2 separate regions of the Homo sapiens genome follow, and region 2 is linked to region 1. The links are contacts of gene promoters, found by promoter capture Hi-C in blood cells and fetal thymus (Javierre and others, 2016). All regions are on one chromosome and are shown on one strand. Each heading gives the region's core, a stretch centred on a gene start or on the middle of the fragment in contact. The rest is flanking DNA. Distances are from core to core; before and after follow the strand shown. Region 1 holds the start of CDCA7 (cell division cycle associated 7). Region 2 holds the start of GPR155 (G protein-coupled receptor 155).

Region 1 (2,700 bases), core at 157-2,656:
AGGAAGACTAAAAATTTCCCTATCAGAACCTTTCACAGGCAAAGTGACTTAATCTTCCCCTGCTTCATGGATCTAGTAATTCCAAATTTTCATATATTTAGCTTTAGTGGCACAAAATTATATTCCCAAATGTTTATTCATTCAACAAATACTTACTGAGGGCCCTGTAATTCCGTAATTTCACCACCCACCGATAGCCTCTCCTCCTGGCACTCACCTTCTAGACCTTGAGCTCTTTGTCCCTTGCACAGTGGCAGAGTGATTACTGGGTAGGTATATTTAAGAAAGGCTGGAAGACTCCTTCCAATCCATTGTCCTCGGGCATTATTTACTTGCTCACAGTTTTTGTATTCAGTACACCAAGAGAGGAACACAGTATGTCCATGCACTCTCTTACTGCAAAGGAATTAATTATTCCCCAGAGAAAAGTTTTGAAATGAGGGGGAAATGCGAATGTTTTCATTTCAAGCGCTTGTTTTAAATGTTAAGAGTATAATTAGTGTCTTCTAAAGAAACTAAATTTACTTTTTCTTGTAGAAGCAAGTTTTGCTCTTCACGCACACAAAAAGCCTCGCTTTATTTCATTTTTTCGTTGTAATGCCAAGTTTGGTTAAAAGGGCAATGAAAAGTTTTCTCGTTCGCACTGACTCAGGGTAGTTCTCAATTCTGAAGACAGAGAAGATCATCAAGCCACAATTGTTCAATCTTTAGTTTCAATCCCCAACAGATAATCGTTAAAGGTTAACTATACTATAGACGTCTTCATCAAGCTGCTGCGGCTTTTCTTCTACTTTGAAAACCACAAGTAAACAAGTCGGCTTCCTGTGCTTTTTGGAAAGAAAGATCAGGATTTAACTCATTTTATTGCTTCAGATAATGGTGTGGTTCCCAGATAAGAGGTGCTACATCCAGGGGCGGTGAACTCGATTATGAAGGGTGGAGTTCGTGCTGGATTCTATGATTTTTTAAATCTTGTAAACCGCACGCAGCAATGAAAGTGCTAAACGCCATGGTGCGTGACCCGCGCCACCCTCACGCTGCTCTCCTTTACCCCCCAGACTCCACTTTTCCTCCGCCACCACGAAAATTCTTGCAAATCAGACAGCTAACCCCGGGGCAATACGAACCATTTTCGCGCCACTCGCTCAGGACCGCGCAGCTGCACAAGGAGAGTGGTCCCCGTAGCCCCTAAAGCCCCCCTTTCTCAAAGGGGATTTTAGGAGTGCCCAAGGCTATCCTTTGAGGTCAGAATATATAGGGGGGTCGTGTTTTTTCCAGGGGGCCACCTAGTCTTGCGCCATGTCTGGCCGTTACCACAGCTTGCAGGACCTGTGTCCCAACGCGGGAAAGACAGCCCGAGCCCCGCCCCTCCGGGCCCGGGTCGGCGCGCCCAGCCTGCCAGCCGCGCTGCTGCTGCTCCTCCTGCTGTGGGACCGCTGACCGCGCGGCTGCTCCGCTCTCCCCGCTCCAAGCGCCGATCTGGGCACCCGCCACCAGCATGGACGCTCGCCGCGTGCCGGTGAGGGCTGGGCGGGCGAACCCGAGGGGCGGGCGCGGTGGGTGCTGGACGCAGGCGGGCGCGGGCCGACCCTCTCCAACTCCGCAGCCTAGCGCTGCCTTAACTGGTGGCCTGCCTAGGCGTTGCCCGCTTGGGCAAGCCCCTGATTTTGTGCACCTGGGATAACTGAGGGCCATGGGGACGTTCCTGCGTGGCGTGCGCACCCGAAGTGCGGGCGGCGTGGAGACTTGAGTCGTTTGCAGGATGGCTAGCAGCGCTGGAAAGCCCTAGGCACGTGCGTCCGCCAAAGGCCGGACAGCGGCCGGGAGCGCTGGCCGGTCCCGATTTTGCCTGCCAGGCAGAGCCAGCCTGCCTGCCCCCTGGGAGGTTGTCCCGCAGCGGCCCAGCCCTTTCCCGCACACAACTCGGAGCCAGTGCGTGGCTCGCCGCGTCTATACCCGCGCTCAGTGGGTGGCCCTTGGGCGCGCACCCCGCCCGGCAAGAGACGCGTCCGCTTCTAACCGCTGAGGGCCAGCGCGTCTGAGGTTTAAGGTCTTGCGAACCGGTCTCCTAGAACTTGGGCTGCGCACGCAGTGTGAAGCGACCGTAGTCCCGGGCGGTGGTTAAGTGCATTTAAAGGGCTTGGTGGGTCAAAGCGTTCGCCGACCATTTGCTCGTTTCCTACTTCCTCCACCCCAACCCCCAACCCCCCACCCCCCACCCCCCAGCCTTACTCTTAGCTGCAGGACGTTGCTCTGAGTGGAACGTTACTTTTTGCTCTAACGGAAGCCAGAACGTAGGGTCGGGCTCCTGGAGAGGGTAGAAGAGTGGGGGTTGGGTGAAACGGAAGACAATGACATGTTTAAAATAAATATCAGGGGTTAGGGACCCTCGCGGGGGTGGGTGCGATGGGGCGTGGTTTCAGAGCTGAGTCGCCGCCCCGGTGGAGCTGGGCATTGGCTTTCCGGATGAAGAAAACCATGTGTAGCTGGTCTTGGAACCTGACATGCCTGAGTTCAAATCTGAGCCACCATGGGACTTGAGTAATCCATTTCGCTTTCCTGAGCCTCAGTTTCCTCATTGGCTAAGTGAGAATAACGATAGCACCTTTGTTGCAAAGAATTAAACCTGACGTGAAAGTGTACTTAACATAGTGCCTGGCACGAAAAACGCCTACTATAAATGGTATTAGTTATTACTTA
Region 2 (2,700 bases), core at 61-2,560, 1.1 Mb after region 1:
CTATAGGGATCAGTCATAGCAGCTCACGCCTGTAATCCCAGCATTTTGAGAGGCCCAGGCAGGTGGACTGTGTGAGCCCAGGAGTTTCAGACCAGCCTGGCCAACATGGCAAAACCTTAGTCTCTACAAAAAATTAGCTGAGCTTAGTCATGCGTGCCTGTTGTCCCAGCTACCTGGGAGGCTGAGGTGGGAGGATCACCTGAGCCTAGGAGGTCTCTGCAGTGAGCCATGATCACACCACTGCACTCCAGCCTGAGTAAGACCCTGTCTCAAACAAAGACCTCCTTAGAGGGATATTGTGTGGATAGAATATTTTATATACAGCTTATCACAGAGTAGGCCTTCAAAAAACGGCAGCAATTGCTATTAGGAACTGTTGTCTTACTACTAATAATGATAAAAAAGTAAACATGTTAGTTCTTCAAACATAACTGGTAAAAGATCCACCAACTAAAAAAAGAGGGATGGGATGCGTCATAAATTTATCAGTTTTTGTTTTATACCAAACAATTAAGATAAGTTGAATTTAATTTGGTTTGATAGTAAATGGTTAACAGTGAAGGCAGAGCTCTTCATTTTTCTCAGGGTGATGGTCAAATAGTTGTAGCAATGTCCAAGATTAACTTTCAATTCGTTGAAAAATTAAAAAACAAAAAAACAAAACAAAAAAAAGGGCCGGGCGCAGTGGCTCACGCCTGTAATCCCAGCACTCTGGGAGGTCGAGGCGGGCGGATCACCTGAGGTCGGGAGTTGGAGACCAGCCTGGCCAGCATGGTGAAACCCTGTCTCTACTAAAAAGACAAAAATTAGCCGGGCTTGGTGGCAGATGCCTGTAATCCCAGCTACTCGGGAAGCTGAGGCAGGAGAATCTCTTGCACCCGGGAGGCAGAGGTTGCAGTGAGCCGAGATCCTGCCATTGCCCTCCAGCCTGAGCAACAGAGCAAGACTCCGTCTCAAGAAAAAAAAAAAAAAAAAGCAATCTGCCCCTCCCCATGAGGTTTCTTTTAACGTTTCTCAGTATTATAAAAGAAATACCTGCTGAGGTAAAGTCAAAATAATCAAAATGACTTTAAAAGTTTCATTTCATCCTAATCTTTTTTAAACGGGAAGATAATATGCTTTCTAAAGCATATTTTAAAATGAACAGGAACCACAGCAAGGGAAGTTTTAAAAAAAAAATTACATCCAGCCTTTTTATCTATAAAAACAAAGCTTGTTACAGAACAAACACGTTCACAGTAAAAGACCACTCGCTGAGGCACGAACTGAAGAAATGCTACTGTACTTACAAACCGCTTCTAGCCACATCACATTTGGCTTAGATCACATAAACGAACCACTGATACTGTAAATAACTGCTATTAAGTGAAAATGCGGGGGGAAGGCGAGGGTTGACTAACTTCATAGAGAAAGCTTTAAACTCTCAGGCTATTTCTCAAACATCCAACATCCTTTATCCCGTGGGATAAGTGTAATACAGTGTGGTACTATTAGAGCACTCTTCAACATTAATAGTCGCACCATTCACCCACTCCTACCTACTTGCAGGGCGCCAAATGTCCTCCCTAGAGACCCAGGGTAGGGAGCGCTGAGCACTGCCTCCTTGCCTCGTCTGCAGGGACAGACTGTGGCCCTCCAAGATAAGGGGCGCAGAGAGTTCCTAACCGAATAGGCTGCTCGGAGAGCAGCTGCCAGCCAACCCCTGGGAAGGCAGCTGTGGAAGTGGAAAGGCAGCCAGGGGTCTTTGCCTGGCGTAAGAAAAAGGTGGTCGCTAGTCTTCCCAGGGCACGGGAGTCACAACGTCATGGTAACTAACATACCCCAAAAACGGGTAAGGGAGAAAATTTGGCGCAGTGCTCCAGGTGCCTGGGCAGAAGCCTTCGGAAGGGCCAGATACTGAGGGTACCCTCGGGATAAAGGGAAGAGTCTAAGAAAGACAGGGTGGACGCCCGTGCAGTGAGGAGCTTCCCAAACTAGGGATGGCAGTTCTGTCTCCGGAGGGGACGAGACACCCCCTCCCCCGCGCGAGCCTTCCCGGGTGATCTCACACGTTCCACAGGCAGGCGCTGCGGGGCAGAGACAGCAGGTCCAGACAACGGGCCGCGGGGCCAGGGCGCAGAGGGTCGGCGGCTGCCCACGTGCCCAGGCCTGAGGGGCAGAGGCAGGGGTACCCCGTGCCCGCAAGGGAGAACCAGGACCCAGCAGGTCCGCGCTCCAGGGGCCCCTCTCACCTGCTTCGTCTGCAACCTTGGAGTGGCGAGGAGAAGGGAGCTGGTGCTCGCAGGGTGCCAAGCAGGGAGAAGACCACCGTCATCTCCCGCCCCCAGCCCTCTTCGCCGAGCGCAACCGGGTGCCAGCTGCAGCAGCTTAGGCACGTTCCGATAAAGTAAGGTGGGGTAAGCCGATGCGGCCCTGTCAGCTCAGCCCCTCGCCGGCCGCGAGGCCCCGCCCCCGCCCCGCCTTCAGGCCCCGCTCCCTCCCAGCCCCGCCTTCAGACCCCGCCCCCAGCCCCGAACTTCCAGCAAGACGGGCCGCTTCCCGCCCTCGAGCCCCGCCCATTTCCAGGAGCCTTGAGCCCAGAGTCTCCGTCCCGCCCTCAGGCCCCACCCACAGCCTCGGGCCTCCGAGCCACACGTTCCCCAACCCCGCCTTCAGTCCCCGCCCCCTCCTCCAGCCTCGGAGCCCCAGGGTACCCGGCCC

What was found. The method cuts DNA at HindIII sites, captures the fragments that hold promoters and counts their contacts. A CHiCAGO score of 5 or more calls a contact.
Region 2: a contact is called between a fragment that was not itself captured here and the fragment with the promoter of CDCA7 in region 1, in 1 of 17 cell types (fetal thymus). The highest score is 6.7, in fetal thymus.

Annotation. Positions count from the first base shown.
Region 1 is chr2:173,353,466-173,356,165 of GRCh38, forward strand. CDCA7 (cell division cycle associated 7) reads left to right here and starts at 1,407. Exons shown (of 10, transcript NM_031942.5): 1 at 1,407-1,519. The coding sequence starts at 1,499. RefSeq lists enhancers at 451-1,406, 709-798 and a silencer at 1,349-1,618. The HindIII fragment of the contact is 4,998 bases long and covers 1-2,700 here.
Region 2 is chr2:174,484,642-174,487,341 of GRCh38, forward strand. It overlaps GPR155 (G protein-coupled receptor 155), which reads right to left and starts at 2,388. Exons shown (of 16, transcript NM_152529.7): 1 at 2,232-2,388. RefSeq lists silencers at 1,903-2,085, 2,349-2,528 and an enhancer at 1,939-2,008. The HindIII fragment of the contact is 201 bases long and covers 1,211-1,411 here.